Linked DNA regions of Homo sapiens: region 1 is linked to region 2. Evidence: promoter capture Hi-C in human tissues and cell types (Jung and others, 2019). All regions are on one chromosome and are shown on one strand. Each heading gives the region's core, a stretch centred on a gene start or on the middle of the fragment in contact. The rest is flanking DNA. Distances are from core to core; before and after follow the strand shown. Region 1 overlaps WWP2 (WW domain containing E3 ubiquitin protein ligase 2). Region 2 holds the start of PDPR (pyruvate dehydrogenase phosphatase regulatory subunit).

Evidence for each region. The method cuts DNA at HindIII sites, captures the fragments that hold promoters and counts their contacts. A contact is called where the count stands out against the background at its distance.
Region 1: a fragment that was not itself captured here is called in contact with the fragment with the promoter of PDPR in region 2 in 1 of the 25 tissues and cell types used here (mesendoderm cells).

What each region holds. Positions count from the first base shown.
Region 1 is chr16:69,782,753-69,787,485 of GRCh38, reverse strand. It overlaps WWP2 (WW domain containing E3 ubiquitin protein ligase 2), which reads right to left. Exons shown (of 24, transcript NM_001270454.2): 2 at 406-490. The coding sequence starts at 475. Among named protein-coding and RNA genes, the nearest start is that of WWP2, 23 kb to the right of the region's middle. The HindIII fragment of the contact is 5,626 bases long and covers 1-4,733 here.
Region 2 is chr16:70,112,437-70,117,515 of GRCh38, reverse strand. PDPR (pyruvate dehydrogenase phosphatase regulatory subunit) reads right to left here and starts at 3,184. Exons shown (of 19, transcript NM_017990.5): 1 at 3,076-3,184; 2 at 2,586-2,695. RefSeq lists enhancers at 1,708-2,650, 3,171-3,220. The HindIII fragment of the contact is 8,445 bases long and covers 596-5,079 here.

The DNA.
Region 1 (4,733 bases), core at 706-3,205, 330 kb after region 2:
CCTTAGTAGCTGGGACCAGCTAGCATGCACCACTATGCCTGGCTAATTATTTTATGTTCTGTAGAGACAGGGCTTCCCTATGTTTCCCAGGCTGGTCTTGAAACTCTGGGCTTAAGGGATCCTCCTGCCTCAGCCTCCCAAAGTGCTGAATTACAGGCGTGAGCCACTGCACCTGGCCTGAAATCACCATTTTAGACAATTTTAGCTAAAAGTTCCCTATTTTCCTGCTCCTTTATTTTCTTTCTTCTTCAAGAATTACAGCTACAAGATGACAATCCCATGAGAATAAATAATTAACACATGTAAACTATTTCACAAAATTTGGCTCCCCAGACCAAGGTGTGGTTAGATTCTCCCTCTTCCCTGGGCGTAGACAAGATGAAGACATTATACAGTGCCACTCACCTTTCAAAGTGAGCTGAGACTTCTCAAAAGGCAGGGCCACTCCTGCCCGGCTAGAGCTGGCAGATGCCATATCATCACCGTGAAGCTGTAAGACAAACAGAAAAAAGAATTCAGAGAATATCTGATAAGAAGACAGAGGAGTTTAACTCAATTTCAATATTTAAGCTTAAAGAAACAGGCAAGAAAATAGAAACGTCCAAGCAACTGCAACCAGGGTATAGTTTGTCTTATAATGACTTAATGAACCTGGACAGGTCTTAGGATAGACTAGAAAGGACACAGGACTGTTATAGCAAAGTCTAGAGGAGGCAGAGTCTACTAAGACACCTCTGCCAGGCATGGTCGCTCACGTCTGTAATTCCAGCACTTTGGGAGGCCGAGATGGCCAGATCACCTGAGGTCAGGAGTTTGAGACCAGCCTGACCAACATGGCAAAACCCCGTCTCTACTAAAAAATACAAAATTATCCAGGCATGGTGCTGCATGCCTGTAATCCCAGCAACTCTGGAGGCTGAGGCAGGAGAATCACTTGAGCCCAGGAGGCGGAGGTTGCAGTGAGCCAAGATCGGCCATTGCACTGCAGCCTGGGTGACAAGAGCGAAACTCCATCTCAAAAAAAAAAAAAAAAAAAAAAAAAAGATTGGCTGGGCGCAGTGGCTCATGCCTGTAATCCCCAGCACTTTGGGAGGCGGGTGGATTACAGGGTTGGGAGTTCAACACCAGTCTGGCCAAGATGATGAAATCCCATCTCTACTAAAAATACAAAAAAATTAGCCAAGCATAGTGGTGGGTGCCTGTAATCCCAGCTACTCAGGAGGGTGAGGCAGAGAATTGCTTGAACCCGGGAGGTGGAGGGTGCAGTGAGCCGAGATCGTGCCACTGCACTCCAGCCTGGGCAACAGAGCAAGATTCTGTCTCAAAAAAAGAAGAAAAAAAAAAAAAAGACATCTCCAAAAAGAACATCACAGATTCACAGCAGAAAGACAGCTAATCTAGTGTGCTAGCTGTAGAGCAAGTTTGCTGCAAACACCTCAAGGAGGGTCTCTGGCCAAATGAGTAGAATCTGACAGTAATCCTTGCTAAAAGTATAATGCAAGAAAAAAAAAAAGGAAAGAGAAAAAGAAGACAACTAATACAATTATTTAAATGGGTAGGCTGGGTGCAGTGGCTCATGGTCTGTAATCCCAGCACTTTGGGAGGCCAAGACAGGTAGATCATCTGAGGTCAGGAGTTCAAGACCAGCCTGGCCATAATGATGAAACCCCATCTATACTAAAAAACAACAAATTTGTCGGGCGTGGTAGTGGGTGCCTGTAATCCCAGCTACTCGGGAGGCTGAGGCAGGAGAATCGCTTGAACTCGGGAAGTGGAGGTTGCAGTGGGCCGAGACTGTGCCATGGCACTCCAGCCTGGGTGACAGAGCAAGACTCTGTCTCGAAAAAAAAAAAAAAAAGATGTGCAGCATCATTCGCCATGAGGTGTCCCTGTCATTCCGTCTTGGCTAGAAGCAAGTCTATCTTGTACTTTGAATGGATCTTTTACTTGTATGTGATTTTGGAATATCATCATTTGACATTTGAAAAATATTGGTTCATTGAGTTCTGCAGATTTTCCAAATGTTGACACATTTCATTATGCAATATCCAAAAATCACATTTGTGAATGTCACCACTGATCTCATCAGACAAGTCTTTAAGCATTGGGAAGCCATTGAGCTCTTGGTAGTAGATAAAAGCATTCCAAAAGTCTAACTTTCCCTTAAAACCTTTCACTTAAAAACTCATATCCGCTCCCCTTCCTCCCTCCTTCCATCATCTCTACTACCTTGTCTTTTGTCTTTTTTTTTTTTTTGAGACAGTCTCACACACCTAAGCTGGAGTGGTACAGTAGCACAATCTCGGCTCACTGCAGCCTCCACCTCCCAAGTTGAAGTGATTCTCGTGCCTCAGCCTCATGGGTAGCTGGAATTAGAGGCACCAGCACCACCTGGCTAATTTTTGTATTTTTAGTAGAGATGGGGTTTCGCCATGTTGGCCAAGCTGGTCTCGAACTCCTAACCTCAAGTGATCCGCCTGCCTCAACCTCCCAAAGTGCTGGGATTACAGGTGTGAACCACTGCACTCGACCACTCTTTCTTTTCTTTAAAAAAAAAAAAAACTCATATTTTATCATTGGTAACAAATACTGTGTTGTTTTCCTTGAAGTGTCGGGCTCACTTCATTCGTTTTCAAGAAAAGGCTTGCCAAATACCCAAATCTAGTAACACATTTGTCTGTTAGATGTTTAAGTAAAAATGGTACTTCACCCAAAAAGCAATTAATTCAGCTCTCAATTCAAACAACCGTGCTTTTTCCCAACACACCATTATACTTCAACAGGCGGCAGAAGAGCTTTTGGAGTACTGCCCATTTCAGCACACAGAATATTAAAAACACGTGCTCAGGAGTCAAGACTTCATAAAATTAATGAATTTTACCACTTCATCAAGGACATTCTCAGGCGAACCTGGCTTTTTCTTTTCTTTATACTGAGAGTATGTGTGGTGAAGGATACCATGACCACAGCAACAGCCCAATTGGTGCTAGCACCAACTGCTTTACTCACCTTTGCTTCTGGAACATTGGTGTGAATGGGATCACAGTGAAAAGGCAAAGTGTTAATGTCATTATGAAAATAATTTCGGCCAGGCACAGTGGCTCACGCCTGTATTCCCAGCGCTCTGGGAGGCCAAGGCGGGTGGATCACCTGAGGTCAGGAGTTCGAGACCAGCCTGACCAACATGGTGAAACCTCGTCTCTACTAAAAATACAAAAATTAACCGGGCATGGTGGTGGGCGCCTCTAATCTCAGCTACTTGGGAGGCTGAGGCAGGAGAATTGCTGGAACCTAGGAGTCAGAGGTTGCAGTGCGCCGAGATCATGCCACTGCACTCCAGCCCGGGCGATGACAGCAAGACTCCGTCTCAAAAAAAAAAAAAAAAAAAAAAAAAGAAAGAAAGAAAGAAAAAGAAAAGAGTTTTAACCTTGCAAAACCCTAAAAGAGTCTGGGAGACCTCCCAATGTCTGAGGACCACACTTGAGAACTGATGCTGTTAAATTCTTGTGCCTTTGTATCTTATGTTTTTTAGAGATGGTATCTCACTCTGTCGCCCATGCCGGGAGTGCAGTGGCATGAACATGCTCAGTGCAGCCTTGAACTCCTAGACTCGAGCAATCCTCTCACCTTGGCCTCCTGAGTAGCTGGGACTATAGATGTGCCACCACAACTCTAATATTTTGTTGTTGTTGTTGTTGTTGTTGTAGAAACAAGGTCTCACTACGTTGCCCAGACTAGTCTCAAACTCCTGGCTTCAAGCTATTCTTCTGCCGCAGCCTCCCAAAGTGCTGGGACTACAAGCATGAGCCACCAAGCCTGGCCAAAATTCCTGTTCTATTCAACATCATTAATACCTTCTGTCATTCTATTTGTATGTGACCTCTCTCCCTGCCTTCCCATTTTCTTTTTTTTCTTCAATATTATTATTATTACTATTTAGACACAGGGTCTGGCTGTATTGCCCAGGCTAGAGTACAGTGGCTACTCACAGGCATAATCATGGCTCACGGCAGCCTCGAACTTCTGCACTCAAAGTATCTCCCTGCCTCAGCCTCCTGAGTAGCTGGAAATACAGGATCGGACCACCAAGCCCGGTGCCTGACTTATCTTAAAGAGTTGTTCAGCTTTAAAACATGGTTATTAATTCACCATATTACTCTAAGAATGAAAGCCCTTGGCCAGGCGTAGTGGCTCACGCCTGTAATCCCAGCACTTTGGGAGGCCAACGCAGGCAGATCACTTGAGGTCAGGAGTTTGAGACCAACCCGGCCAATGTGATGAAACCCCATCTCTACTAAAAATACAAGAATTAGCCGGGCATGGTGGCACGCACCTGTAATCCCAGGTATCCGGAGGCTGAGGCAGAAGAATCGCTTGAACCTGGGAAGCAGAGGTTGGAGTGAGCTGAGATCACGCCGCTGCACCCCAGCCTGGGGGAGAGAGTGAGACTCCATCTCAAAAAAAAAAAAAAAAAAAGGACAAAAGCCCTTCATATGAGAATTAAATATAGTTACAGGAGAGGCACAGTGGCTCACATCTGTAATTCCAGCACACTGGGAGGCTGCGGCAAGAGGATCATGTGAGCGCAGGAATTCAAGACCAGCCTGGGCAACATAGTGAGACCTTGGCTCTATTTTATAATTTAAATTTCAATTTAAATAAATGTAGCTATGGCTAAGTGACAATGATGTTGACATTTTCCATAGCTAAAGTCAAACAATGTCACGCTCCAA
Region 2 (5,079 bases), core at 1,935-4,434:
GATGGAGTCTCGCTCTGTCGCCCAGGCTGGAGTGCAGTGGTGCGATCTCAGCTCACTGCAAGCTCTGCCTCCTGGGTTGATGCCATTCTCCTGCCTCAGCCTCCTGAGTAGCTGGGACTACAGGCACCCACCACCATGCCTGGCTAATTTTTTTTTTTAATTTTTAGGAGAGACGGGGTTTCACCATGTTAGCCAGGATGGTCTCAATCTCCCGACCTCGTGATCCGCCTGCCTTGGCCTCCCAAAGTGCTGGGATTACAGGCATGAGCCACTGTGACCGGCAAATAATTTTTAAAGCTAATATTTTTATAAGTAGTTACAATGCACCAGATACTGCCTATATATATAACTAATTTAATCCTCACAACCTTATGAGGTAGATACTAGCATTTCTATTCTACACTTGAGGAAACAGGCACAGATAAGTGGAAGTGACTCACCCAAGGTCCTACCAAACTGTTGAGTAGCAGAACCCTGCCAATTTGGCATTAGTGGCCGGCTATTTAATCATGACTCCACGCTACCTTTCAAATAAAAGCAGATGGTAAGGAAAGGACAGCTGTGAGGACTGAACCATTAAGCACATTCCCCTAACAGAGAAAGGGAATTGCAAAGGTGGCAGAACAAACACAGTAACAGATGAGTTTTAAGGTGGAATTAAAAAAAAAACTTTAGGCCGGGCGCCATGTCTCACGCCTGTTATCTCAGCACTTTGGGAGGCCGAGGCGGGTAGATCATTTGAGGTCGGAAGTTGGAGACCAGCCTGGCAAACATGGTGAAACCCCGTCTCTACCAAAGATACAAAAAATTAGCTGGGTGTGGTGGCACGCACCTGTGGTCCCAGGTACTCATGGTGCGGCCACCATTGCATCTTGGGCCTCACTAACCAGTTCCCGTTTGTTGGATTCAATACTCTCTCACCACACAGGCCAATCTTGTGTTTTATTAATTTTTTTAATTTTTTTTTTTTTTTTGTAGAGAGGGGCTCACTATGTTGCCCAGGCTGGTCCTGAACTCCTGAGGTAGGAGGATCGCTTGAGCCTGGGAGACAGAGGTTGCAGTGAGCCGAGATTATGCTACTGCACTCCTGCCTGGGTGACACAGTGAGACTCTGTCTTAAACAAAACAAAACAAAGAAAGGCCAGGCGCAGGGGCTCACACCTGTAATCCTAGCACTTTGGGAGGCCAAGGTGGGTGGATTATTTGAGGTCAGGAGTTTGAGACCAGCCTGATCAGCATGGTGAAACCCCGTCTCTACTAAAAACAGAAAAATTAGCCAGGTGTCGTGGCTTGCACCTGTAGTCCCAGCTACTCAGGAGGCTGAGACAGGAAAATTGCTTCAACCAGGGAGATGGAGGCTGCAGTGGGCAGATTCGCGCCACTGCCTGGGTGACACAGTGAGACTCCATCTCAAAAAAGCCCAGGGTGCTTGGCGCCAAAAAAGGGATCTCTGACCTTGTGTTCATTATGACCTTCAAAAGAGTGAAGTGGTGAGGGCATGAGGGCAGAGGAAAAGAAGGGCTTAAGACAACGAAGGAAAAGAAGGCACCAGAGTCTAGTGCCTTTGCCGCCAAACCTAAACCTATAAGGTTGGCAGCAAAACCAAAGCACAAACTGATAACAAAGGAGGTAAAGCCAGGGGAGAAGAAACTGAAGACGTCAAAGACAGAAATGAAGCACATCATCTGGTTTAAAACAAATGATAGAGTTTTTACAGTTCTGGAAAATGACCGTATAATATTCTCTGCTAAGAAGAATAACTTCTGCTAAACAACCATAAGACTGCAGCTGGCTCTACTCAGATCTGCTTATTCCAACAAGACCAAGGTGCTAGTTCTAACTTCGAGTTGTCCCTCTGTATGGCTGCAGCGTTGCGCACAGTGGACTGCCGGTCACAAGGAAGACTGGATGAGCGTGGGTTCACACAACATTTCCCACACTTGCCTCAGCAAAAGAACCACCTGGGACACTTGTTTAAAAATGACAGATTCCCACGGTCCACCTCGGCAGATTCTGATCCTGCCACTCCAGGGAGCTGTATTTTTCAACAAGTACACCAGGTGATCACGCAAGTTTAAGAAATTAACACAAGTTGGCCGAGCGCAGTGGCTCACGCCTGTAATCCCAGCACTTTGGGAGGCTGAGGCGGGAGAATCACGAGGTCAGGAGTTCGAGACCAGCCTGGCCAACATAGTGAAACCCCGTCTCTACTAAAAACACAAAAATTAGCCGGGCGTGGTGGCGCACACCTGTATTCCCAGCTACTTGGGAGGCTGAGGCAGGAGAATTGCTTGAACCCAGGAGGCAGAGGTTGCAGTGAGCCGAGATCGCGCCACTGCACTCCCGCCTGGGCGACAGAGTGAAACTCTGTCTCGGAAAAAAGAAAAAAAAAGAAAAAAGAAATTAACACAAGTCCCTGCCACTGGAAAAGCTTATCCGTCAGGCTGGCTCCTCCTCCACCACCAGACCCCATCCCGGTACATCACGTTTACATGCATGCGGAAAATGGGCTTGGAGATTCTTGATTCAAATCCGAGGTATCACACATCGGCCCCCAAAGGTCAAACATTAAGAAGGAAGCTTACTGCCCTGTCCCAGATTTTTCTAGGTGACTTCTTCCTCCGGACTCTGCAGCAGTCTTTAGTTCTAAAAGCACAAGCGGACCGCACGTCTCAACGCGGGAAAACAGTTCCATCTGCAGGGATGGAGGACCGGGCTAGACAAGCTGGAGTTGGCTCTGCGCCGCAGGGGTGTGCAAGCCCGAGACGGGGGAGCCCGAGGTCACCCCGGCCGCCCTGGCATCGGGGCTGAAGTGCAGGCTCCTGGAGGAGCGGTGCGCACGCCCAGGGGTAGCCGAGAACACAAGCCAAGGCACGAGCGGACAACCTTACGGGGACGAGTACTGGCGCCCGGACGCGACTTCGCGAGAGGCCAGGCGGAACCCACTGGAAGCGTGAGCTAGCGGGGACCACCCCCGGGCGAAACCAAAGGAGAAAGAGGGGAACCCAGGGGTCCCGGGGCGCTTAGGCCCGCGCGGACGGGGAGGCCAGAGTTGCCCCGAAGCTATCTCCTTACCTCACCGGTCCCCACGGGCTCCGCGCTCAGCTACAGCCCGGCGGGAGCAATGCGGCAGCCACAACAGTTGCCTGGGGTCGCCGCGGGCCGGAAAGCGGGGTTCGGGGATGGGAAGGGGGCGGGGCGAAGCGAGCAAAAAGTTCCGGGGAAGCCGAGACCGCGACCTTCCGCGCTTTACGGCCCCCGGGCAAGGGTACTGCCGGCGCGTGACCTCAGCAGCGCACGAGCGCGCCGTGACGCCTTCGCGGAGCCCCGCCCCTGCCACGTGGGCTTGTTTGGGTCTCGCGAGGCACCGCCCCCGCGGCCTCTTTGCCACCCTCAGAGGCGAGCTGTGGAAGCCTTGACTCTTAGGGCCGTTTTAGAACCGGGGCCTCGGACCGGCGGGGTTTCTGCACGTGGAACCGGAACATCTGAGATGATCGCAGGCCCTGTGGAGTGTGGGGAGCGCGGGAGTTCTTTCTTCCCTCGAGGCCCGTGCCAGGGCTTACTCCAAAGCCAGTGGGTCCCCAGTCCTAAGCCAAGCAGTCCCGGGGGAAAACGCTTCTCATCGCCGTGGGAGCGCGGATCTTGGAAGTGGCTCTGGGCTTTCTTGGGCGAGGCTCTCACAGAGTAGATCGGAAATCCATTCTGCTGGCCCGCCCCACCTCGGAGGACGGACTAACGGACCTGAGTTCCCGGCCCTATCTTACTCTTCTCAGCTTCTCAGCTTGGCTCAGCTCAGAGGAAGAGGAATCACTGAAGTCTCAGAGAAGTCTCCACTCATCCCTTCCTCACTGTCACATCAGCCTTTTCTTTCCTTCTAGAACTCATCACTGACTCAAGGATATAAGTTTGATGACTGTCTTTTCCACTGGTGTGACACGATCTCTGTCGACAGAACCTTAGTCTTATGCATAGCTTTATTCTCAGCACCCAGAACAGTGCCTGGCACCTCTTCCACTGAATATTATATGCATAAGGGTCTCATGCTGCAGCCACCATTGCATCTTGGGCCACACTATCCAGTTCCCGTTTGTTGGATTCAATACTGTCTCACCACACAAACCAATCTTGTGTTTTATTAATTTAAAAAAAATTTTTTTTTTGTAGAGATAGGCTCACTATGTTGCCTAGGCTGGGCCTGAACTCCTGGCCTCAAGTGATCCTTCCATCTCAGCCTCCCAAAGTCCTGGGATTACAGGCGTGAGCCACTGTGCCTGCCCCAATCTTGTGTTTTATTGCTGGCCACCTGTAGCCAGGCACTGTGCAGGATGATGGGATCCAGCAATGTACAAGAAAGAGGCGGTTTCTGCTCTTAGGGAGTGGCAGTCAAGTTCCAGGGACCCCTCTGTCACAAGGCCAGGCCACAGCCTACATAGTTTATACCCCATTTACTGGCCAGTCAAATCACACAAAGACAGCCCAGATGAGGTCTGCCAGACAGTGGACTGAAACTATGCCATAGGCTCCTGTGCTAGATAAATACTTCCATATTTTAGCTAGGATTGAATGCTTGGGGACACCTACCTGTCTAAAAAAAGAGAAAACGGCTGACCAATTTGAGACATTCTCGGGGAAGGCTTTCCTGATGCCCAGATGTGGCGATTTCATGAAAAATATCACAGGTTTTCCTCATGAACCATTTGGTTCAAGCCATTTCCAGGCACATGAATTTGGGAGAAACCTGGTTGTCTGCAGGAGATGGTGGATGAAATCAAGTGAAATACTTAATGTGTTGATTTCATTCTGTTTACGTGCAGTAAATAGCAAACAAATGGTGTAGATCTGTCCCTGATTTCCTTCTCCATCACCATGATCGGCCTCCACTCCAAAATGCTAAGTCAGGCTGGGTGCGGTGGCTCATGCCTGTAATGCCAGCACTTTGGGAGGCCAAGGCAGTTGGATCACGTGAGGTCAGAAGTTCGAGACCAGCCTGATCAATATGGTGAAACCCCATCTCTACTAAAAAATACAAAAATTAGCTGGGCGTGGTGGCACATGCCTGTAATCCCAGCTACTTTGGGA